Linked DNA regions of Homo sapiens: region 2 is linked to region 1. Evidence: promoter capture Hi-C in 16 types of primary human blood cells and fetal thymus (Javierre and others, 2016). All regions are on one chromosome and are shown on one strand. Each heading gives the region's core, a stretch centred on a gene start or on the middle of the fragment in contact. The rest is flanking DNA. Distances are from core to core; before and after follow the strand shown.

Evidence for each region. Contacts are between HindIII fragments. The CHiCAGO score rates a contact against its expected background, and 5 or more counts as called.
Region 2: a fragment that was not itself captured here is called in contact with the fragment with the promoter of OTOL1 in region 1 in 1 of 17 cell types (endothelial precursors); the score reaches 9.7 in endothelial precursors.

What each region holds. Positions count from the first base shown.
Region 1 is chr3:161,494,657-161,500,159 of GRCh38, reverse strand. It overlaps OTOL1 (otolin 1), which reads right to left and starts at 3,352. Exons shown (of 4, transcript NM_001080440.1): 1 at 2,989-3,352; 2 at 900-989. The coding sequence starts at 3,352. The HindIII fragment of the contact is 10,143 bases long and covers 2,453-5,503 here.
Region 2 is chr3:165,175,291-165,180,793 of GRCh38, reverse strand. No RefSeq gene overlaps it. Among named protein-coding and RNA genes, the nearest start is that of SLITRK3, 18 kb to the left of the region's middle. The HindIII fragment of the contact is 1,401 bases long and covers 2,211-3,611 here.

The DNA.
Region 1 (5,503 bases), core at 2,103-4,602:
TGATATATAGATGGTATTAGGCCTTTTGACATGTGACACTGAGGCTAAAACATTTAACTTGATGGATAGATGGTATTTCTACAGGCTGCTGGTATTCACTGAGGAATTTCTAAATATCCTAGTGAATCTGTAGCCTTCCTTCAGTACCTTTAAGCACTTACAGAACCAGGGATTTCCTGGGGCAGAAAGCCTTCTTTACTGATACACCTATGGAATTACAGAATTTCTGAGCTTGAAAAGAGCTATAAAGCCACTCATAACTACAAATCTTCTTCGATAGTAAACAAGATATAAATAAATATCTAGTTCATTTCCTTCAATTTCCAGGTGAAAGAAAATGACTTGCCCAATGTCATTATTATAAGCTTGATTACTTCTGTTTTAATTAAGTTGTCTTCCCACCACTGACACTGCCTCTGATTTCAGAGTGAGCCAAGGGATATATTAAATTCTTCTTAGCAGGCATACTATCCACCTAAACTGAATATTCAGAGAATTGCCTGCTCTAGTTAGTTCCATCTAATACAAAATTATTTGCATCCAAAGGAAGTAGGCTAACATGAGCATGTACAGGAAGGGTATCTCTATACCCTTCCCCAGAGACTATACTCTGTGGCTGCTTGTCACTAGGTCAGCTAGGTGACCAATGAGAGATGGAAAAGCTGTGTGACAATCTGTGTGCCTGCATGCATGTGTGCAGTGTTCCCAGGTAAGTTTAAAATTTCTCAATTGGCTGTTTATAAAGTTAACATATTTATATCAAATATAATGTGCTTTATCAAGTATTTACATTTTTAAAATTGACTCATCTGCAAGAATCTAGTCTTTAAGTAGCAAATTGCTCTCCTGAAAAATGATGCAGAATGTCCCTTGAGTTTTGACATGAATGAATTACCTACCTTTCTCTCCTTTGTAGCCTCTAGGGCCTTGGGGCCCAACAACTCCTGGTGGCCCTGGGATCCCCAAATTTCCAGCCTCTCCTTTAGGACCTAGAAATGGGATTTTAAATACATCAGAATATAAAATTTCTCTTTTAAAGTTCATTAGTTCAGGAAAGAAAAAAAGCATTTTACTGCAATCAATAAGTATCAATGACCTAATGGTAAAATCTGAGTAAGAATAAACCACACAGAGTCCTAAGGGCAATATTTTTGTCTGATTTGCAATTTCGTACTACCTGAATAGATAAATTGAGACCATTAGTACTTGTCACTGTATTCATGGCAGTGATCAAATGATTCAGGGAAGCAGCACTATATCAAACAAGAACAAAATGATAATCTGACACTTAACCTCATATGGACCACACTTTCACATTGGAAGTAAAAACAACACCTAGCACCTTTGGATTTCCCTTTTATTCACTTACTCATTCATTCATTAACTATTTCTGAGGCATCCTATACACCAAGCACCCTGCAAGGTGTTAGGAATGCAGCCATCAACATTCCAGCAGTCCCTACTCTCATGAAGCTGAGAGTCTATGAAAGATAAACATTTAACAAATAGCCACACAAATACGTAGAAATTGTCACATTGTAGTAAATGATATAAAGAAAAATACGAAGGTCTTATTGAGGACTTAACTGATGAGATCAGAGGCTTCCTTGAGAAAATGGTATTAAGCTAAGACCCAAAGAATAGATTAAGATTTCCCAAAGCAGAGTAGCTTCCCTAAGTAGGACCAAGATAGTCTCAGCATTCTAAGCTCTCAAGCACTATGCTCTGTGGCAGAACCAGTCAGACTAAGACATATGAGCTCCCCAGGCAGGGTAATAACTTGGCACACCTTGGAATTATTTGTCATATATATTTAGAGGAGAGAATGAACCCTGAGAACAGCACAGCTAAATCCACCACTGGGTAAAACAAAAGCCCTGATGTTACAGAACTCACAGCCTTAGCAAATAGTTTAGCAACCAGCTGTGTCTACTTGACCATGCCCTTGGGATTTTCACCGCCAAGCAGCTTACCAGCCAGATAGGATACTAAGACTTCTGGTAAATATAATTTTCTCAGTCTCATTAAATTTTCAGTAATGTTTTAGCAATCCTGACATCTTGGTACCCAAGCTACGGCCCATCTCCTTTACTCCTTAATGCAGCTCTGCATAAATACTAACCGCATTTCCCAAAAGGTCCCTACAAAGGGATGAAATGAATGAAAAGCTTGGTGAAGATGTATAATTGCTTAGTTTATAACATTAAATTCCTCAGGCAATGGTGAATTTTAAGTTGACATTCTGATCTTAACTTTACCTTGAATTCTCTTCTAGATGACATGTAAAAGCTGAAATGTATTAGAATAAAGCCAAGACTATATTCATTATGTATATATTATAGACATCTGAAATCTTGAAATACATAACCATGGTGTTCAATGGAGAAAATCATTGGGCAATGACACAGTATTGCCTCAGAAATTCAATGAGAAGCAAATGGAATCCTAAGCTTTATTCTCCACCTCAGAGCCATTCCATTTCTAATCCTAACTACAAATAGCACTCAGAAAATCCATCAGTCAGCACACATTCTTGCAAGGCAACAGAAGTTTCATTTACCCTTTTTAAATCAGCCACTAATTTAAAAAATTGTACTGGTAATAAACCTGTGCATCTTGAAGAACCAGAGCACCATGCTGGAGTTGGTAATTCCTGACTTTGCTCTCACCAGCACTGTCCAGTAGAATTGTCTACAATGATGGAAATGCTATCTGTGCTGCCCAATACAGTGGCTGTTGAGCACTTGAACTGTGGCTAATGTGACTGATGAACTGAATTTTTTACCTTATTCAATTTTAATTTTAATATTTATTAATTACCACATTGGGCAACACAGCACCCATTTACATTTGTAACAATGTGACACCTAGACCTGTTACTATTTGCATAACAACGTAGAAACTCCTGGGGCAATTTCACCCGACAACCTACCTCTCAACTCTACCAATGTACAAGTGAGAAACATGACTTCTTATATTTTCTAATACCTGGCTGTCCAGTCTCTCCAGGTTCTCCTTTCTGCCCGGGTACAGGTGAACAACAATCACAACAATTCAAAAAGAAATCAGCTGGGTCAAGAGTGAAGTTTTCAAAGGGAGAGAGAGTGGCAGTGCCAAAGACAGAATCCAAGGCCGAGGGTTTGGTAATTGGTTCTGCCATTTCAGCCATTTCTGTGAAGAGGGTTTCTTCTTCTTCTGGAGGTGGGCCACTGGATGGCTTTAGACCCTTTGGCATCTCTCTTTCCTCAGATTTCTTCGTAAATTTGGTATGTGGTGTGGTCTTTGCTATTGTGTTCATACCAGCAATAGCCAAAATAATTAAAATAGCACAAAGCCAAGAAAACATCCACATATTTGAAGCTGGAAGAAAGATATAATAGGAAAATATATACATATTATGTGAGGTCCAAATGAAAAGACTAAGTCATATAAACATATACTCATATAAAAGAAATATATATGTATATGAATCATAAGAATGAATGATATGCATAATATAGAATGATATATTTTCAATATATTTTACATGTAAATGTGTACTTGAATCACTACAGAATATTTTATGTACTTATTTATTATAAAGAACACTTTACTTCCATTCATCTTTCTGGTTATTTTCTTAGTATTATATATTGTTCCCAACTATTCAAACTATCTGGCCAAATAGCAAACATGATCTACAATAAATACAACATGACTCAATAGCTCATATACCCTGTGGAAGATAAATGTGTATAATTTCCTCACTGATTTCACTCAGATTTATAGAAATCAAATACATTTGTATTAGAGGGAGATGAAAAATATTGAACTGAGTAGTTTATTCCAGCAAACTCAATTATTTCAAGAAAAAATATGGTGAAATAGTCCTTAAATCTACTAAGGATAATGGTCCTGTTGTGAGAGCAATTTTTTAAAATCTATTTTAATAAGTGAAGAGAGAGACAATTAAAAATAATAAATTTGAATATATGCTACATTCTTAGATTCTTCACATGGCATTTAACTCTCCACCTCTTTGCTTTGTAATTTGGGGAGTTTTTCTAGAAATTCATGTTTATTCTTGTATTATTTTAATGGGGCAAAATGTGGTTATTCTAAAAAGAGCTTTGGCAATGTCCAAAGTGATATGATGTAAGGTTTCTAATGAGGTGAAATTTTGATAGTTCAGAGTATTCCATTCCAAATCAACTCCCAGTAGTCTAAGGGGTGCTAACAGATAGCCAGGGTTATAAATCCACATTTCCTGATAGGAGAAGGCAGCCATAATTAAGATAAATAGTAAGAGAGTAAATAGAATGGAAATAAAGAGATTAAAAAGGTCTACTGTTTATACAGTCCCTACTCTGAGTAGATGCCGTACATTAATCAATCCAATCAGGTCTCACAACAGCTCTCCATTCCCCCTTGAGAACTGGAACATGACGATGATGCTCTCTCTCACCACTCCTATTCAACATAGTACTGAAAGTGCTAGCCAGAGCAATCAGACAAGAGAAAGAAATAAATGGCATTCAAATAGGAAAAGAAGAAGTCAAACTCTCTCTCTTTGCAGAAAATATTATTCTATACCTAGAAAACCCTAAAGACTGCCAAAATTCTCCTGGGACTGATAAATAATTTCAGCAAAGTTTCAGGAAAGAAGGTCAATGTACAAAAACGAGTAGAATTTCTGTACACCAATAACATTCAAGCTGGGAGTCAAATCAAGATTGTAATTCCATTTACAATGGCCACGAAAAAAAATACCTAAGAGTACATCTAAGGAAGGAAGTAAGAGATCTGGAGAACTACAAGAAGAACTACAAAACACTGCTGAAAGAAGTCAGACATGACACAAATAAATGAAAAAACATTCCATGCTCATGGATTAGAAGAATCAATATTGTTAAAGTGGTCATACTGCCCAAAGCAATTGATAGATGCAACACTATTCCTTTCAATCTATCAATGTCACTTTTCATATGACTAGAAAAAACTACTCTAAAATTCATGTGGGTCCAGAAAAAGAGCCCTAATAGCCAAAGCAATCCTAAGCAAAAAGAACAAAGCCAAAGGCATCACATTACCTGATTTCAAACTATACTGTAAGGCTACGATAACCAAAACAGCAAGGTACTGGTACAAAAACAGACACATAGACCAGTGGAACAGGATAGAGTATCTAGAAATAAAGCCACACAACTATGACCATCTGATCTTTGATAAAGTCAACAAAAATAAGCGATGCAGAAAGGACTCCCTATTCAGTAAATTGTCCTGTGATAGCTGGCTAGCCATATGAAGAAGAATGAAACTGGACCCCTACCTTTCACTCTATGCAAAAATTAACTCAAGATGGATTACAGATTTAAATGTAAGACCTCAAACTATAAGAATCCAAGAAAAAAAAAGCCTAGAAAATACCATTCTGGACATCAGCCTTGGCCAAAAAAATTATGACTAAGCCCTCAAAAGCAATTGCAACAAAAAGAAAAATTGACAAGTGGGACCTAATTAAACC
Region 2 (5,503 bases), core at 1,662-4,161, 3.7 Mb before region 1:
ACCTTTAAGTGTCCTATCTTTGGAAGAGTTTAAATCTTGCAGTTGGTTTACTAAGCCACTTCAATTAGCATCTGTTAACAAATTCACTGAAAATCAAACCTTGATGATAACTGAACAAATTATAATTAAAAGTAAATATTAACACAAAAAATCACTAGGATGAACTGAAGTAATGATATTAAAACATTTAGATTAGTTCATGGTACAGATGTGTAAAATAAATGAGGAGGTCTTTTTTCCTCTTTTAAATAGTAATAGTTTCTTGTGTACAAACAAGAACTCCTCATTGCCTGCTAGTTAATTTTTGGGCCATTGTAACATAACTGTCCTTAGCCCATTACTAGAATGTATTTAAGAAACACAACCAATTATTATTATTTTTAAGAAAACTTAATTATCTATTAAAGTTATTATAATTTATTATGTAACGTTTCAGAGCAATGACTATTGCAGAGCCAAATATACATAGTTTAAAGTATTTTTGTTACCTGTAATATTGCTCCCCCCTTTTATTTTTATGGTTTGAATTTTAACAGTATAAATGATAATGACATTGCATTTTAATTTGGATCTTATACGCTTCTCTCTTTATAAATGTGGATAACGTAAGTGAACATTGCTCAAATGAATTCTGGATGTGTATATATATATAGATATAGATATATACATATATACACACACACACACAATGCATATATATGTGGACACCATCTACTAACATTTTTATGAAACAAATGACAGTTTACATACTGCATTATTGCACAGATGTAGTTTTTAATAAAGGCTTAAATTTAAGCTTCAAAATAGGGTAAGATGTGGTGTGGAATGTTGAACAGTATATAAAACTGTAGTTGGTAATATTTTATTTGTTAAATGAATCAGGCTTGGGTTTGACACTTACTCACTTCTCATGTTAATTTCAACATGGCTACCCAGTTGTGAGATACACCTTTCACTACTCCTATCCCATTTCAAAAATATATGTGAGCATTTCCATAAAGCATTGTGTCCTAACTCAAAGCAGGTAGCATGGAGATATTGGTTCTGTGGAACTTTTCTTCAAATTGCAATCTGCCTTTCCTAACTGCAACATGCACAGATCCGTCCTTATATCCACTGCAAGGGACATCACAGAAAAATGGAAAGAAATGTAGCAAACAGAAAATGAAGAGAGAGAGAAGATAATGTGTAATCAGCTGGGGAAAGACTTCTGAGGTAATTCTCATATGCTTGCTCATCAGCCACCATTTTGAGAACTATTATTCTCAGCAAATATCTTACCAAGCAAATACTTTATCTTTCAGAATATGCAGTTTGTTTATTCCCATGTTTGTACAAATTACTGTGGTTATTCTTTTATCTCCTGAAAATACATATCTTTCATGGGTATCAAAATTCAGTTTCAAATTCCCTTCATGCAGTAGGCCTCTATTGATACAGTAAACTAAATTTTGACTATTCTCTCAAATACTCCTGCACACTATTTACTTTATGCTGATTTGAGTATGTTGGAATATTTTACCCTAAGTGTCCTTCAGTCATTTTGCCTATTGGTGCCAAGAATTCTGGCTTTTCAATTATGTTGTAAGCACTTGAGAGCACAGATTGTCTTCAGTCTTTCGTAGCCCAGTGTCTAGGACCATATTTTGCACAGGTAAGGGCAATACATTCCGATCAAACTTCTGAGTTTCGTGAATCTTTTCCTGTTACTAAAATAGCCACATTACTACCTTTCTTCCCATTATTTTCAACACAGAGCCTGGGCAACAATAAACACTAAATAAATATTTGTTGAATAAATGAATGGACAGAGTTTTAAATATGTGTGGCCTATGGATTCTTGCAAAAGTTGAAAGTCCTGTGTATGTAACCCAGAGAAATGATGAAAAGAAATGGAGTTTGGAGTGTAAGAGAGGTGGTAAGAAATGTGACAGTATGAGAAATGACTTCTTTTACTTTTCTTAAATTTGATTATTGGCAATATACATGGTGTCTAAATAAGCAAGATACAAGCTGACTAAACAAAGAAGGCAGAGGAAAATGAGTAATATGAGCATGTCTCCAAGGAGAAACTAGGGGGAAGAAAGTAGGAAGGAAGGAAGCGAGGGAGGGAGGGGAAGAGTTACAAGATGTATTCATAGCTCCTCAGCAGTAGACAAAGCAGAGAAAGGAGCATAGCCAATACTATTCAGGTGCGGTGTTAGAAAGCTTTTGCTCAGTTGCTTAAATGTTTATAAATAAGAGCAATAATTTAGTGGGCTCTATTGATGTATTCTTTGTTATCATTGCTTAACAGCAGGTTCTACCACTTCACTGCAAATTTTACTAGAATGTTAATCCAGCCAAGATTATTAAAATAAAACAGGGCATATATAAAAGTATTATACATATTGCCTTCCTTTAAAAAGAAGAGCTGTTTAAATACATTTTTGTCTGTTCTATACAAGACAAATGTATAATAATTAACACTTGGAGTGTCAGGATTTGTGTAGTTATATCCCTTTCAGTTCTAACTCTGTTGTGGACAAAGGTGAGGAGTAATTAGATTATCAACAAAGGATTGCAGATACTCATACAAATTAATATATGAAATATATTTCTGCCTTGTAGGATCCAAATTTTAATGCATGTCAAACTGCATTTTCACTTAGGTAATGTGAGGCCTTACAAAGAGAAGAATATGCATCTGTATTCTTATTAAACTTTGATTCTTGAAATGCTATGATCACGTTCTCTTCTAGCTTACTGAAAATGTATAGTAATCAACCAGAGTTTAATTGATGGTAAATTTAACCCAAAGAGAAATATTTAAGGCAGTTGTAAGAACAAAGACATACTTTATACAATAAACGGAAGGTAAATATTTTTATTAAAGATATGAATATCCATATAAAAATTCAGAGTGCTTTTTGGGTCTGGAAGTTTGGCACTTTATTCCTACACCTTAGTTGTCTTGAATGTTTGACTTTGTGTTGAAATTGTATATTTTCATTGTCATTTTACATTGTCCTTGAAATATGCTTGTGTTTGAATTCTAATCTTATTAGGGAAAAAATAATTCTAAACTTCATATTTACATTTTTAATGCATTTAGAGTCTAATTTAATTATTTTAGAGGTTATTTTGCAGAAGTACTGTGTTAAAGGGATTGCAGAATTTCAAACTATTGTCACAGAAATTAATGGCATGTAGCCCAGTATGTCTTAGAATGTAACATAGGAATATCTTCCTTGTCAATAGAATCAGGGATGTAGGGCTAATAAATTCTTCAGACATAAAATAGGTTTGTATAAAATTGACACCTAAAATACGATCACTTAGGAAGATGTAATATATTGGAATTGTAAAGTAAAAAATATGAATATGCATAGTTATGTGTACACATATGCTACAAAATTTTATTACTATTTTCATTAATAAAAATGCTATGACAAAATATTAAAAGGTTAATATACAACATACAAAAGATATGAACATGAGACATAAATTAAGTTTCATATCTTAACCCCCTGTAAAAGTCAGTAAACCTTTTAACTTGAATTTTTCTGAATAATTAACTGTGTTGGGCTGAGAGAATACCTGGTGATAATTAATAACTTCCAGGAAAAGCTTCTCCATGTCTTAAACATGTTGACAGTCAGACTTAAGTTTTATTAGAGCATTATAAATTACTATTACCTAAGAAACATAAAAAGTCATTTACATTGCATATTAAAATGTTCTTTTTTGTTTGATTGTTTATAATTCTGATTATAATATGATCAGATTGTTTGAAGAAGTTGATGATCTCCTATGATATGCATATTCCACTCTGAGTCAATATTTTCCATGAATTATGCTCCTATCTTAAAAGACCAACTTGCCAAAAACAAATGAAGACTAGATAAAGAAAAATTCAATAACTATGATTCTCTTTAAAGTGCTTACTGTAGGGATTTAGATTTCCTCTGCCTCTTGCTATTATCAAGTGAAGTGACAACTAGATAGAAAAAATACTACTGTAGCCTGTAATCTCATCCTTTTGTCCATGTTTTCCCAATAACACTACTATGGTTTAATAAAAAGCTAAGTATAAAAAGGAATCTCACAGATAACCACAGATAATAGGTCTCACTGCTAAATACCCAATTTTCCATATGAAAACAAGACATAGGATACCATAATGAGTAGAGCTATGATAATTCAGTTTGGTTTTTCAATAGTTCCAGCTATCTACCACATTCTAGAATGTGTGGAATAAGGCTAAACTGCAGAGGGATGTCTTCATAATCCAGTTACCACTTCATAAGAAAGGGGAGAATGAAGACCTATATTAAGAAAATGGGACCTCTACTAATGACAATTCTTCAGTTTACCCTTTTGAGTCTCAAACTCTGTAAGACATCATAGTGAAGGCTATCCTGACTATTTCAATAACCTCACAGAAAGACCTTAACTCATACCTTAAGAAAATTTCAGACCCTGCAATATCTCAAACCTTTAAAAATGAATTGCAGCTGAAGGCATGGAAGGACTGTTATTACTCTCCTGGCATATTAATTTAGGTTGATATTGATAAATATTTCCTGAGAGTACATAGATAATGGAAAATACCTAATTACATATAAATATGGCAACAGAGTATATAGCCTAGCAAATAAAGTAAGTTTAGCAAATAATTGATTTCCCCAGGCCCATATCTTAGCTAGTGAGAGTAAAGTGTATGAGTGTGACATTTCCTGTTTGACAGAATGGGTCATAAGGAACTTTTATGGGAAAGATGTGGTTCAACAGTCTTGATATGTATAACATGTTCAGTAATAATCGGCCTCTTTTCTCTCCTCCCAATGCTTTTATCCCCAACCGACACACACACTGCTTCAACATACACACACATTATGTGCTTTCTTGACTGTTTTAAAATTACTTTTTCACTTTCAAATTATTTCAATCTGATTTAAAATGATGATATACACTGTGGGTAGGCCTCCTGAATATCCCCCAGCTCTACTTGTGGAGATATTTGAATGAAAAAAAAAAAGTGAAACTAAAGTAAGTCAATGGGTGTTTGATATATGAAATTAGAGAGAAGAATTTTTGCATATTGAGTGACTGATATTTTAAATTTTATCCAGAATTTTGATGTTAAAAATAGGCACAGATACAATAATTTTGACATTATAAAACATGCTTAGACAACCTAATTTAATAACTAAATTAGGTTGTTTTCTTCATGTAATCATGAATGTAATAAAACAACTCTTTAAGAATTGTTATCTTAGAATATTTTAAAATGTGATCTAAAATTTGAAGACACTTCTAAATACTAATAATACCAAAAATGAGCTAGATTCTTTGTTCTTTATTATGTGTATGTGGTAGAGACCTTAAAGTTGTGTTTTAGGAAAAGTTTCAACTGAATTTGAAAGTAACTTAAATTGTTATGGCTGTGTGTATGTAGATGCAGGGGTTCCTTGAATGTGCAGATTTGCAAAACAGTTTCTATTAAAATGGTTGATAAACA